5 separate regions of the Homo sapiens genome follow, and regions 2, 3, 4 and 5 are each linked to region 1. Evidence: promoter capture Hi-C in 16 types of primary human blood cells and fetal thymus (Javierre and others, 2016). All regions are on one chromosome and are shown on one strand. The core of a region is centred on a gene start or on the middle of the fragment in contact, and the rest is flanking DNA. Distances in the headings are between cores, read along the strand shown. Region 1 holds the start of RABGGTA (Rab geranylgeranyltransferase subunit alpha). Region 2 overlaps LOC101927045 (a long non-coding RNA gene). Region 3 overlaps CARMIL3 (capping protein regulator and myosin 1 linker 3). Region 4 overlaps CPNE6 (copine 6). Region 5 overlaps NYNRIN (NYN domain and retroviral integrase containing).

What was found. The method cuts DNA at HindIII sites, captures the fragments that hold promoters and counts their contacts. A CHiCAGO score of 5 or more calls a contact.
Region 2: a fragment that was not itself captured here is called in contact with the fragment with the promoter of RABGGTA in region 1 in 2 of 17 cell types (neutrophils and naive CD8 T cells); the score reaches 5.6 in neutrophils.
Region 3: a contact is called between a fragment that was not itself captured here and the fragment with the promoter of RABGGTA in region 1, in 1 of 17 cell types (activated CD4 T cells). The highest score is 5.3, in activated CD4 T cells.
Region 4: a fragment that was not itself captured here is called in contact with the fragment with the promoter of RABGGTA in region 1 in 2 of 17 cell types (activated CD4 T cells and total B cells); the score reaches 5.9 in activated CD4 T cells.
Region 5: a contact is called between a fragment that was not itself captured here and the fragment with the promoter of RABGGTA in region 1, in 5 of 17 cell types (total CD8 T cells, total CD4 T cells, naive CD8 T cells and 2 more). The highest score is 7.9, in total CD8 T cells.

The regions. Positions count from the first base shown.
Region 1 is chr14:24,270,347-24,273,046 of GRCh38, forward strand. It overlaps RABGGTA (Rab geranylgeranyltransferase subunit alpha), which reads right to left and starts at 1,251. Exons shown (of 17, transcript NM_182836.3): 1 at 1,141-1,251; 2 at 767-823; 3 at 491-601; 4 at 1-112. The coding sequence starts at 769. It also overlaps a transcript of NOP9 not described here. RefSeq lists enhancers at 569-778, 1,519-1,598 and silencers at 969-1,258, 1,329-1,428. The HindIII fragment of the contact is 2,930 bases long and covers 1-1,915 here.
Region 2 is chr14:24,446,426-24,449,125 of GRCh38, forward strand. All of the region lies in intron 2 of LOC101927045 (a long non-coding RNA gene), which reads left to right. Among named protein-coding and RNA genes, the nearest start is that of SDR39U1, 5.0 kb to the left of the region's middle. The HindIII fragment of the contact is 4,219 bases long and covers 1-2,700 here.
Region 3 is chr14:24,060,049-24,062,814 of GRCh38, forward strand. It overlaps CARMIL3 (capping protein regulator and myosin 1 linker 3), which reads left to right. Exons shown (of 40, transcript NM_138360.4): 23 at 1-15; 24 at 109-207; 25 at 580-708; 26 at 879-992; 27 at 1,449-1,624; 28 at 2,432-2,519; 29 at 2,661-2,766. Among named protein-coding and RNA genes, the nearest start is that of CARMIL3, 9.4 kb to the left of the region's middle. The HindIII fragment of the contact is 4,487 bases long and covers 1-2,766 here.
Region 4 is chr14:24,077,715-24,080,414 of GRCh38, forward strand. It overlaps CPNE6 (copine 6), which reads left to right. Exons shown (of 17, transcript NM_006032.4): 16 at 1-53; 17 at 174-373. The coding sequence ends at 16. It overlaps NRL (neural retina leucine zipper), which reads right to left. Exons shown (of 3, transcript NM_001354768.3): 3 at 948-2,700. Among named protein-coding and RNA genes, the nearest start is that of CPNE6, 7.5 kb to the left of the region's middle. The HindIII fragment of the contact is 1,349 bases long and covers 644-1,992 here.
Region 5 is chr14:24,400,958-24,403,657 of GRCh38, forward strand. All of the region lies in intron 2 of NYNRIN (NYN domain and retroviral integrase containing), which reads left to right. Among named protein-coding and RNA genes, the nearest start is that of NYNRIN, 3.3 kb to the left of the region's middle. The HindIII fragment of the contact is 4,166 bases long and covers 1-2,700 here.

The DNA of each region.
Region 1 (2,700 bases), core at 1-2,500:
GCTGCTGGAGCACCTCTCGTCGGCAGTTCCAGAGGGTGGCAAAATCAGGGTTGGCTCCCAGAATCTGGCTTGTCAGTTCCAGCACGGACTCATCCAGCTCACCAGCCTGGCGCTAAGAAGATAGGTGGCAGGGTTAGAGATCATATAATTTTCCCACTACAGGACTAAATAACGTAAACTTAAAACCATCCAATATTCTGTGAATCCCACATTATACAACAGGTACTATGAACCATGCTTTATGGCCTTACAGGTATTCTCTCATTTAATCTTCACAACAGCCTTATGCAGTAGGTGCAATTATTAGCCCCATTTTACAGATGAGCAAACTGAGGCCCAAAGAGATTCAGCAACTTGCCCAAAGTCATACAGTTATAAGTGAGATAACCCAGAATTGGATCTAGGCAGTCTGACTCTAGGGACCAGCTCTTGGCCTCTGCACTATACTAAGGGAGCTACTTGGGGTCGGGGCTACCTCTGAGGGCCCCACCTTCTGGAATACGGCCTGGGTGGCTGACTGGTATAGCTTCAGCTTCTGCTCTCGCTCTAGCCTTTTGGCCTCCGCCTGCTCTTCTGACGTCTTCACCTTCAGGCGTCCGTGCTACAAGGATGAACGGGTTGGAAGAGTGCAGGTTGCCTTGCAGAAGCTGACCTGCAAAAACCCCACACTGTGGAGCCCTAGGTTCATACGGGGCAACCATGGCACTGCCACTGGGGGTGAGGGCGCGGGCCTGCGGAGGTGAAGGGCTGGGCTCAGGGTTCTCACCATGGTGCCGGCTCAGGGTTCAAGACAGGGGAAGGGTCCAGTGGTAGCCCTTGAAGTCTGAGGAGAGAAGTGTCAATCACGTAGCCCCGCCCCTACTAGCTCCGCCCACAGCTGTGTCCGGAAGCAGCAAGCGTGCCTGGGCAGAGACCCCCAGAGTGTAAAGAGGTCCTGGGACAGGCTTTGCACGTTCCACAAGAGGTGAGCACCCGGACTAGGACTTCCATCCGTGTGGCCCTTCCTATAGCCCGATTCGCCCGGGCCAGAGCGCGAGCCGGGGCACCTGGGCGTTGGGGACCACTCTGCTCCCCAAAGGTTGCCGCTACCCGCCCGTCCCACGGCTCCCGGGCACCCCCGCCCCCCGCGGGCGGACCCACCTGCGCTGGGAGGAGGCGCGGGGGACGCGGAGCTGCGGCGCCCGCCACAGAGCCCAGGCGCTGGCTAGAGCGGCGCCACGTCCCGGCTCATCGAAACGCAGCGCACTCTGCAGGCTTGGGGAGGGACTTGCGGCGGAAGAGGCCGGCTCGGAGGCGCGTGCGCGGGGGCTCTGCGCTCGCTGTCCGGAAACGCCTCGTACCTGTTAGCCACCTGGTGTGTACGAGTGCGCACGGGCGACTGTAGCGTGCGTGTGAAATGGGGGGAGGACCATGCCAGTTGGTAACTCAGAGTGCAATGTAGTTAGTGGAAGAGGTTTCTCCAACAGCCGGAAACCCGCACCTTCACTACTCCACTGACCTCACCCTGGCCACACCGACAGCCTTCTAGATGTCAAATCTAACAGGGGGAGTTTCCTGTCATTTTCTCTAACCTCTGAAGCATTTGACGCTACCCATTTCTTTATACTTGACACCCCCATTCTGGCTTCTCCTCCTGCACCTCTGCCTCTCTCTTCTCATCTGTTCACCTCCACCCCTAAATGTTGGTGATCTCCAGGGCCCTTTCCTCACCCCTTTTTCACTTCACCCACTGTTCCTGGGAGAATGTTTAAATGTAAGCCTTCAACTGCTTCGAGTTGGAGCTCCTCAGAGCTGTTTTGGCCCACAAATCTGGCATTACACTTTCTCTGGGTGAGTTCATCCACACTCATTGTTTTAATTACTACCTGTAAATTGATGACACCCAAATTTATATCTCCAGCCCAGATGTCTTGCAAGCTTAAATAACAATAAATAATATACATGCACATACATATTCAAACACCTGTTGGATATCACCTGGTGTCCCAGAGACACCTCAAACTCCAAAAGCCAAAAGGTATAAATTATCTTTCATCCATCCTGTCTAAACATTGGCCTTTATGTTTTCTATTGTAGTGAATGGCACTATTTCCTCCTCACTTCTTAAACTCGCTTAAATACTCTTTCTCTTCCCACTGCCACTAGGAGTTCAAACTCCGAATTTCTTCTCCAGATTGTTGAAAGTCTTTTCAGTGTTCTCCACCTCATCCCTTGTTATCAGTCCATCCTCTGTGCTACTGAATCCATTTTTCTAAAATGCAGATTTGACGTCATATCTGTGCCTAAAAGTGCTGAGTGGCTCCTTTTCAGGATAGAATTGTAATCTCTCAGCTCAGCACATCAGACCTATTGGCATTTGGGCTCTGCCTACTCTCTGGCTGTATATCCTGCCTGACCCTGCCAAAAACTCTTCATGACAGCCTACAGAAATACTTGCAGTTTCCTAAATATGTTAGCCTGTTCCCTCTTGACTCTCCTTTCTCCACACTCCTCCTTTGCCACAGTAATTCCTGTTTATCTTTAAGATTTAACTTTTTGAACTCCACAGTACAAAGAAAAAAAAATGTAACTCAAGTGGCACCTCGAGGAAGTTCTCTAAAATGCCCCAGTCTGATTTGATAGACCTTCATATGTACTTTTAAAGACTGTGATTTTTTTCCCTGTGCCTACTGCAAAGAAGGTTTTCTGGTGGAGCCTTTA
Region 2 (2,700 bases), core at 149-2,648, 180 kb after region 1:
ACAAAGATTATTTGCTTGGCCAAACTTTAGTCAGGCTTCTGAACCTTCTAGGCTCATTTGTACACCTCTTTGTAAAATCCAGTTTTCGCAAAGAGCCTTGCTAAGTCAGTTTAGCAAGAACCCCCTCAACCCTTGATATCTGATCACTCTCAATCTCTGATCAGGCCCCTCATCCTTCATCCCCTAGGTGATGTCTGATCACCTTGGCCTATCTTCACATGAATCCCGTTAGTTTGGGTTAGCCAGAATCCCTCTTACCCTTGATATTTTTCTCTTACTAATTTTTCATCCACTGACCCCCACCGTATTCGTTGGCTATAAATTCCCACTTGCCCATGTTGTTTCATACTTGACCCCAATCTCTCCCACTGCAAGACCACATTGTAGTGGTACCTGTACCTATTGTGATGGAAAGTCTTCCTTACCTTACTCTATCAAGTGTCACTGAATAATTTTCTTTAACAGGTATTTTGTGACTTTTAGTTTCAGTAACCCAGAGGCTTGGGTGACAGGAGACCATGCCTGAGATCGAAGCAAATTTGGGACTGAGACCCCTGGATAAAGCCCTTGGGCTGTGTTCTCAGATAAAAAGTAAACTTTAAAAGTCCACCTGGTATCAAAGAACATGGCCTGGAAACTTGTTTCTCTAGGCTTTGCTCTTGTCTAGGATTGGTTGTCAAAAAAATTACCGTTCTTTGAGAAGTTGTATCTATTGTCCTGTCCGCCTGCATATTTGTGGTTTGAATTAATTGTTACCTACTTGGCCTAGAAAGCTCTAACCCAAGAATTTAAATTAAGTGTTCCAGATAGAAGACATAAATCTTCCCTTGGTTTGGTTTCACAGGATTTCAATAGATAAAATCCTGCCAAGCATAAACATACAATACAAAATTACAAAACACACAAGGAAACAAAGCACTCTGAGGGTGTCAAATAAAATCAAACCAAACCGAAACAGAAAACAGCAGATTTAGACAAAGATTTAAAGTGTTAGAATTTAGAGGTATAGAATATAAAATTACCAAAGTTTAAAACGTTTAAGAAAGAGAAGAAATTAAAAACATGAGAAAGAGACAAGATGCTATCAAAAAATACCAGCAGAATTGATAAAAGAACCAACCTGAACTTTGAAAAATTAAAATTTTTTTAATTCAAAAAATTTTTTATTGTACTTTAAGTTCTAGGGTACATGTGCACAATGTGCAGGTTTGTTACATATGTATACATGTGCCATGTTGGTGTGCTGCATCCATTAACTCATCATTTACATTAGGTATTCCTCCTAATGCTATCCCTCCCCCCACACCCACCCCACAATAGGCCCCGGTGTGTGATGTTCCCCACCCTGTGTCCAAGCATTCTTATTGTTCAGTTCCCACCTATGAGTGAGAACATGCAGTGTTTGGTTTTTTGTCCTTGCGAGAATTTGCTCAGAATGATGGTTTCCAGCTTCATCCATGTCCCTACAATGGATCATCCTTTTTAATGGATGCATAGTATTCCATGGTGTATATGTGCCACATTTTCTTAATCCAGTCTATCATTGATTGACATTTGGGTTGGTTCCAAGTTTCTGCTATTGTGAATAGTGCCACAGTAAACATACATGTGCACGTGTCTTTATAGTAGCATGATTTATAATCCTTTGGGTATATACCCAGTAATGGGATTGCTGGGTCAAATGGTATTTCTAGTTCTAGATCCTTGAGGAATCACCACACTCCCTTCCACACTAGTTTCCACTCCCACCAACAGTGTAAAAGTGTTCCTATTTCTCCACATCCTCTCCAGCACCTGTTGTTTCCTGACTTTTTAATGATTGCCATTCTAACCGGTGTGAGATGGTATCTCATTGTGGTTTTGATTTGCATTTCTCTGATGGCCAGTGATAATGAGCATTTTTTCATGTGTCTGTTGGCTGCATAAATGTCTTCTTTTGAGAAGTGTCTGTTCATATCCTTCACCCACTTTTTGATGGGGTTGTTTGATTTTTTCTTGTGAATTTGTTTGAGTTCATTGTAGATTCTGGATATCAGCCCTTTGTCAGATGGGTGGATTGCAAAAAATTTTCTCCCATTCTGTAGGTTGCCTGTTCCCTCTCATAGTAGTTTCTTTTGCTGTGCAGAAGCTGTTTAGTTTAATTAGATCCCATTTGTCTATTTTGGCTTTTTTTGCCATTGCTTTTGGTGTTTTAGACATGAAGTCCTTGCCCATGCCTATGTCCTGAATGGTATTGCCTAGGTTTTCTTCTAGGGTTTTTATGGTTTTAGGTCTAACATTTAAGTCTTTAATCCATCTTGAATTAATTTTTATATAAGGTGTAAGGAAGGGATCCAGTTTCAGCTTTCTACATATGGCTAGCCAGTTTTCCCAGCACCATTTATTAAATAGGGAATCCTTTCCCTGTTTCTTGTTTTTGTGAGGTTTGTCAAAGATCAGATGGTGGTAGATGTGTGGTATTATTTCTGAGGGCTCTGTTCTGTTCCATTGGTCTATCTCTCTGTTTTGGTACCAGTACGCTGCTGTTTTGGTTACTGTAGCCTTGTAGTATAGTTTGAAGTCAGGTAGCATGATGCCTCCAGCTTTGTTCTTTTGGCTTAGGATTGTCTTGGCAATGCGGCCTCTTTTTTGGTTCCATATGAGCCTTAAAGTAGTTTTTTCCAATTCTGTGAAGAAAGTCATTGGCAGCTCGATGGGGAT
Region 3 (2,766 bases), core at 252-2,751, 210 kb before region 1:
GACGTCTGGCAGAAGGTGCAGGGTGCTGTCCTAAGCAGGGTGGCACAGCAAGGGGCAGGGGGCAGCCCCCATCCCCAGGCCCTGACCCACCAACCCCATCATCTCCAGATCCAATGGTGCTTAGTGAGGAACAACCACTCCCAGACGTGCCCCCAGGAGCAGGCCTTCAGGTTGCAGCAGGGCCTGGTGACCAGCAGCGCCGAGCAAGTAAACGTTTCCCTCTGGGACACGGGGCATACCCGGGGCATGCAGGGCACAGTGTGATGTGATGGAAAATTGAGTGGGGGAGCATGAAGAGGCACTGCATGGTGCCTATCACTGGACTGAGCATGTGGGGAAGCAAAAAGAGAGGACATGCAGGATATGGGCTTCAAACATATGTGGGCGAACAGCAGGAGTGCACAGGACTCTGGGAGCTCAGCTGGGCATTCAAGAAGGCTGTAGCAATGGGGACCAGGCCAGCCAGAGACATCACCTCCACCACTGTCGGTGCCAGCACCAGTAGCACTGTCTAAGGGGTCCTACCTGCGAAGATGTGGAAGCAGGGGTCCCCTTGACACCCCTGCCACTGTGCTCCAGATGCTGCAGCGGCTGTGTGGACGAGTGCAGGAGGAGGTGCGGGCCCTGAGACTATGCCCCCTGGAGCCTGTGCAGGATGAGCTACTCTACGCTCGGGACCTCATCAAAGATGCCAAGAACTCCCGGGCGGTGAGCCCTCCACAGGCTACCCTTCCCCTGAAGTCTGGAGAACCCAAGAAGGCCGACCATGCTAAGCCATGACAGCCCTGCCCTGTGCATCTGCCTTCCTAGCCCAGGGACCCCAGAGACCTAGCAAGTCCTGGTTCTGGCCTGCTAATCATAACCCCTTCCTTCTCCAGCTGTTTCCCAGCCTCTATGAGCTGGGCCACGTGCTGGCCAATGATGGGCCTGTGCGGCAGAGGCTGGAATCAGTAGCAAGTGAGGTGTCCAAAGCTGTGGACAAGGAGCTGCAGGCAAGTCCTGGAGGAGGGAGGAATCCATGGTGGGAACCTAGTGTTGACTGAGGCCCTAAGCCCAGAGCTAAAGTCAGAGCTGGGAGACTTCTGGAGGGCCAGGAGGACATGCAGAGTTGAGACCACCCACGCTCCCACTGTACCAAGGCATTGCTGCAATATCAGGCTTGGATTTTTTTCTGCTAGCTTTGATGTTGGTCCCTGAACTCTGACCTCCCTGCTCTGGATTTGGATCCTTGGACTGACTGCCCCTGTCTGTATGGTAGGGTGGAAGGAGCACTGACCAGAAAGTGGGGAAGCCTTAGTGTCCAAGGCTCTGCCACTAACAGTTTTGTGACTTAGGCAGGTCCCTCAGTCTCAGCAGGAGGGGCTGGAATAGATAAAGTCTCTTCTGCTGTGGTGCCAGCCCTGATCCTGTCCCCCTTGGGCCTCTGGCCTCCCTTTCCCCCATACTAGGTGATCCTGGAGTCCATGGTCAGCCTGACACAGGAGTTATGCCCTGTGGCCATGCGGGTGGCCGAGGGACACAACAAGATGCTGAGCAATGTGGCGGAGCGTGTCACTGTGCCCCGGAACTTCATCCGAGGGGCACTGCTGGAGCAAGCAGGACAGGACATTCAGAACAAGCTGGAGTGAGAGGCAAAGGGCAGGGCTGGGGCTGAGCTGGATTTGGCCCAGATCACTTAGGGACTTAGGACTGGAGAGCTATCAGCAATGAATAATGAATGGCACAATCTCCATTACAAGGATCAATCTTTAACCAAGTGCAACCTTGCTATTTAGGGTCTGGCTGGTCTTTGCCCTAGAAATCTAAGTGCTGAGCTGGGGTTTAGGAGCCAAGTTTGTGCCCACACAGGTGTACACACACATACCCACACAAATACACCAGGAATGGGATAGCAGGGCCTCCTCGGAGGCATGGACAAAGAAAAGTACCTGAGTTGGGTGCATGGAAGCACTGTCTTCCTCCCAGTTTTCATTGCCCCTAGAGTTCTTTCATTCTGGGTCTGGGTGCCACCACTCACCAAACCAAAGGAAAACTAGTACACATACCTATGAAACAGCTAGGCCCAAGGAAGGGTCTTTCCTACCCTCACAGTAGCAACTAGCAGGGTTTAGTTACTCAGCACCCCAATTACCTAGCTCTGTTCCACTGGGGCTCCAGGGGCCTGACCTAGGGCCCCCTTGCTCCTTCTCCTCGAATTCCTCTTTCCCCACACATAGTTGGGCTGGGGGCTCTGGGGTGGGACTAGACGTGTATTTGTGGAGAAATGAGTGTCAAGGGCTAGGCTGCCTCCTTCAGCAGCCACATGCGCTCCATGGGCAGACAGACCAGGCCAGCTGGCCGTTCTCTCAGGCTTCTGGGAGAGGGAGTGCCTCAGGGGCCATGCGGGGGACTGAGGTGCTAATGTTCTGAGTAGCCCCACCTGTGCCCACAGTGAAGTGAAGCTCTCAGTCGTCACCTACCTAACCAGCTCCATAGTGGATGAGATCCTGCAAGAGCTCTACCATTCCCACAAGAGCCTGGTAAGGCTTCTTCTGCAGCCTGGCCTGGCTCGGGCACGCCCTCCACCCCACATTATCCTGTCTCCCTAATCACCCTCCCCTTCAAGGCCCTGGGAGGTGGGCAGCTTCCATGGAATTCTGTTCACACCTGCCCTTCCCCAGGCCCGGCACCTGACCCAGCTAAGGACGCTGTCAGATCCACCAGGGTGCCCAGGCCAAGGGCAGGATCTGTCCTCCCGGGGCCGAGGCCGGAACCATGACCATGAGG
Region 4 (2,700 bases), core at 68-2,567, 190 kb before region 1:
CAGCCCTAGCCCGTGACTGCCTCCCTCCGGACCGACACTCCCTCAGCCTCTCAGTGAGTCCTGGGGCTTCCAAAGGAGTGGACACAGGGGGTGCAAAGTGGGGCTTGGTAGAGCCCAACTAGGCTGGGTGTAGTGTAGAAGAGAGTGCTTATGACTCTCCCACCCCCTCCCAGGTGCCTGTCCTGACCCTCGTGACTCCAGTGACCAATGCCTCCACCTCTTGGACCAGGTGTGCCCCCTGGGTTCTGGACGTGAGTGGTGGGTCCTGCTCCTATCTCTCCAAACCCCATACCCTTCAATGCTGTGGCCCCTCAGTGACTTCCTTGGGTGATCCTGACTTTCTAGCCATTAATAAAGAGAACTGCTCCTAGCACCTCAGCCTCTAACCATCATGCCTCAGATGCCCACTGGGCAGCCTGCAGCACCCCCACACACACCATAAGAAATGAGGACCAGCACCTTTCAAAATCTGAGACAGAGCTCCCCAGGCAGGCTGCTGTCTCTGCAGTCTTACCCCAGCTATGTGCCAGTGGGATCTGAGGAGCCCCCTCCCTCACCTCCCAACCCCAGGGGGTCTAGGCACCATGGAGAATAATTACAGGAGATAGGAGGATAATTACGGGCTGTCAGGAGGGCAGGCTGAAGCTTTCTTATAGCTGTCTCCAGAGAGGCCCTGCTGAGTCCCCCAGGAGCTGAACCCCAGCCCCCACACAGCTGTGGGGCGGGCCAAGAGCAGGTGCTGGGGGATACTGAAGGAGGGCAGCAGGTCTGCTAGTGAATTGGGAACATAGTGGAGCATCTAAGGCCTATACAGTCTGGTTTCCCGGGTGTGTCAATGTGTGTGTCTGTTCATGGCCTTAATGGGTCACACTCATGGACTCAGGGATGTGCAGTGCATGAACACACAGATTCACACACTTAACAATCACATCAGCAACAACAGCAAATATCATTACGTAGCATGTGTCAACTTTATGCTAAGTGCTTATTTAAATGCATTTATTCTCAGTAGGTGGTTACCATTATTTTCACCATTTTTCTGACAATCAAGTGAGGCTTGATTTTAACCCACCCATGGTCAAAAAACTGGTAGAACTGCAACTTGAAACAGGGTCTCACTCTGCCACCCAGGCTGGAATGCAGTGGCACGATTATGGCTCACTGCATCCCCGAACTCCTGGGCTCAAGTTATCCTTCCACCTTAGCCTCCTGGGTAGGTGGGACTCCAGGTGCATGCCATTACATCTGAATTTATTTTATTTTATTTTTTTGTAGTGACAGGGTTCTCGCTATGTTGCCCAGGCTGGTCTCAAACTTCCTCCTTGGCCTCCCAAAGTGTTGGGATTACAGGCAGGAACCACTGCGCCCCACCTAAAGCACTACTCTTAATCACCACAGTGTGCAACTTTGTTTTTTTAAGTATACTCAGGTAACCCAGGAGTATCATTTTGAGACCCAGGTATGGTACTGTATATGTGGCCTAGTTGTGTGCTCAGGTGTCTATGGATGGTTCTGTCTGTCTTTGTGTGCCATGCAGGTGAGAAAAGTGAACAAGAAAAGTAGTGGGTCTGAATTACAGCTCCAGGGCAGGCAAGGATAGACACAGGTGAAATTTAGAGTGAGAGAAAAAGAGCTGGGCTCCCGGAAGGACCCTCCCTGCCCCATCCTCTCCCTTCAACAATGAGTGTGGAAGGGGATGAAGAAAGAGAAGCTAAAGGTTCTGTGAGCCCCTCAGAGAGAGAATCCAGAGCCAGAGAGGATGGCCAGTGGCCAATGGTGGGGAAGGGAGAGGAGACGAGAGAAATTCTGAGAGCGATGGAGGAGAGGACTCCCATTGCAGGCTCCTAAGCGGAGGAGGGATGAGCTGGGATAGAGGAGGGGAAAGAGGGAGCAAGAACTGTGATGGGAAGAGAAGAGACAGCTGGGGAGGGGGTGGAGAGAGGGGGTAGAAAGGAAGAGGGACATATGGGAGCCTCTTCCCCCATGCCCGAAAGCTTCTCCCATTTATTATGTCCGGTAGAGGACAGATGACAGTAACTCGTGAGGCGGCTGCTCCCAGCACAACGCCTGTGCTCTGCCCAGAGGCCCCATCTGCCCTCCCCTTAGCCTGCTGAACTGGAGGACTGGGTTACCATGGAAACTGTGAGACCTGGATAGCCACTGACAGGCCGAGCTGGGCCACTGAGGCTTCTGAGTTTGGTGGTGGTGGTGGTGAGAGGGGGAGGATCCATCTGTTCCAATGCCTGCCCCTCCACCCCATTTCCATTGGCTCTCCATAACAGATGTGCCACCCAGCTCCAGGTGGGGACTTCCCTTTTTCTTGCTCTCTCTCTCTCTCCCTCTCTCTCCCTCTCCCACACACAGACACACAAACAGTAGCCTGAAGCAGGGATAAAGAATGAACACTTCTTAAATTGCAAGAACATTTAGCTTATTGCATTAGAATTCTGCCTGGACTTCAAGTTTAATTCACAAAAGCTGCACTCTCTCAGCAAATTGTCATCCCAGGAGAAGTCTCACCTCAGCCCTCAGAGAGGTGGGAGGTGGCAGGAGCACCCTGTGCAGGTCTGGAGGCCCAGACAGCCTGGAGGGAGCTGCCGAGGACCCACGTATGTGCTCACAGAGAAGCCAGGCTTCCTCGCCTGGGCTGTGCATCCCCTGCCTAGGCTGCAGCTGGGAAACTGCAGCAGGATAGGAGGT
Region 5 (2,700 bases), core at 168-2,667, 130 kb after region 1:
TTTTGTATTTTAGTAGAGATGAGGTTTCACCATGTTGGCCAGGTTGGTCTTGAACTCCTGGCCTCAGGTGATCCACCCGCCTTGGCCTCCCAAAGTGCTGGGATTACAGGCATGAACCACTGTGCCGGGCCAGGACTCACACTTTCGGAGGTACCCCCGCCACCCCCTCCTTGCTCAAATCCTGGATTGGCTTCTCCAGGCCTACCTGCTCCGTCTCCCTCTGCTGCTTCAGGGTTCTTCGGACCGCAGATCTCACACCTCAGGCTCCCACTGTAGGCCCAGCTAATGGAATCAGTGGCTCCCTTGATTCCTAGCCCTGTTCCTCCACTCCCCCTTTGTCTTCCCTTTGGGAAAGGCATTGTTGAAAAGTGGGAACCCAGCGTGAGGGGATTCTGGGTAGCTCCCTGCCTTATTTTACACAATGACCATAAAGGAGACTTTGTTGGCAATTTGGAGAAGGAGGACAGGGAAGGTGAGGGGCGGGGGGGGTTAAAGTTTTGTCTCAGGGGTTAGGGGATCTGGGTTTGATATGCTGTCACCAAGTTACAACCAAGATAGGAGGGGTATGGTGAGGAGAGTTTGAGACTGGGGTTTGCTACCTGTTAACTATCTGAACTGGGTGATCAGATCAAATAATTTATCCTCTCTTGAGCCATTTCCCTCATCTATGGAACAGACTATAATAATACCTGGTTCATGAAGAGTTTGTGAGAGTCTGCTGAAATCATGCATGTTACAATACTGTTATAAAATGTGGAGAGCTATAGAGTATAGATGTTAGCTACTATTGTTTTTGACTAGCTGCGTAACTTTGAGCAAGTCCTTTTCCCTCTCTGAGTCTCGATCTCCCTGTTTGTAAAGTGGAAGTCTTGGATTAAATGCTGTCTGAGGTCCAGCGATCTGACACATGAACATTTCCCAAGTGTAAGGATGTCTTGTGGTTCTCATAGGGAGGCAGCGTGGCTGGCCCCAATCTCAGCTGTAGGGACACAGAATCATGCACTTTGTTAGTGGCATACTGAACATAGGCCAACAGGCAGAGAGGACTCTGGGAGACTACAGGTTGCAGGACTGGGGGAGGGCTGATGGTGAGGGTGGCTTGTTGGGGTCTGAGGGGAGGAGGGGTCGAGAAGGATACAGGCTCATCTAGAGAAGGGCCTGAGTGTGTTTCTATGTGGTTGGTTTCTCAGGAAAATCTCTGTAAATCTTGAGTGCTTTAAAATTGTTTTGTTGTGGTGGGATTAAAGAACACTGAAGACATTACTGTGAAACACATACCCAGGCAGCAAAACAAACACTGGGGAGGCCTCTCTGAGGTGAAATCAGTGAGTGGAGAGGCGGGTTTTAGTAATGATCAGAAGAGGCCCGGGACAAGCCCTGCTCCACCCTTCTCCCCTTTGGCAGTGAGGTGAGGATGGGGTGGGCGGCAGAGAAGAGAGGTGACCACTGCGGGAGGTGATGGGGAGCCTAAAGGCAGTGGTGGTGGGCAAGAGTACCTTCTGGAGACTGGGTTCTGGAGCTCTGGGACAGGGTGTGGCCTGCTGACATCTGGCTTGGCTGTCAGATGGAAGTTGAACTATCTTTGCTGCACACTAACTGTGAGCAGTACCCTGAGAGTTGGTTGCGGTCAGTGCCTGGAGTTGGCTCCTATGGACCCACTGTTAAAATTTCGGGAATTGTGCAAGTGAGTGGAGGAGTATTTACAGCCATGGTGGGAGTATTTATGCCACAGAAATTGGCAAATGCGACAAATCAAGGTTACCCCCCACCCCCAGCTGATTGTTAAACATTTACCAGGACACCTGCTTGTGTTGTGGGCACTGAATACTTCTTTTTCTTTAAACTTAAATTTTCTTTTATCAAAGTAATACACATTTGAAAAGTCCAATTTTACCAAAAGGCTTAGAAGAGCACACAGAGGTTCCCTGCCCCGGCCCTCCCAATTCCTCCTTCAGTAACCATCCCCACTGACAGTATTTGCTCTGGCATTTACGCATCTCCACATTTCTAAAAGAATATGTAGACACTATTGTCTTTTAATTAATTGACGTTTGCTGCTATCTTTTTTTGGTCCCATTATCGTATGTGAGGATTGAGCTCCCTTTCACGGCCAGCCCCTCTTCTCAAGATAGTTCTGTTTCAATTACCTGCTAAATCTACGTTTAGCATTGCCTCATTATGCCTTGCACATAGCGTTCACATCGAAGCACTGAAGTGTACTATGATTTTGTTTTCTTTCTTACTTTTTGGGTTTTACTGAGGTCATTGAGGTTAAGCACTCCTTGTTTTTCAATTTGCCTTTCTTTGTACCTATTGTTAATTCTTACCACTTCCAGTAGCCTCTCAGTACAGTTTTCTACAAGGTCAGTCTATCAGTTCAAGGTGTTCTTTTGGTTCTAAATTTTTTCTTGGCGCCGTCTCTCCTGTCTGGTCAGTTGCTTTCCAGGCTGACACAGCTGTCGTTCTTGGCATCCTTTGCCTTTTTTCTTTGCTAGATACTCATGTCCTGGACCTTGAAACTTTTTCTTTCTTGGGTTGATGGAACACATCCCTCTGTAGCCTCAAGTTAAAAAGATGGTGCAGCAGCAAAGTGTATGCAGATGCCTGCTTTCAACATGCCTGTCTCTTGAGTCATACCCTCCAATCTGAACTAGCTGTCCTGTGTAATGACCATTGTCACCCTAAAACAGTGCCTGGCAT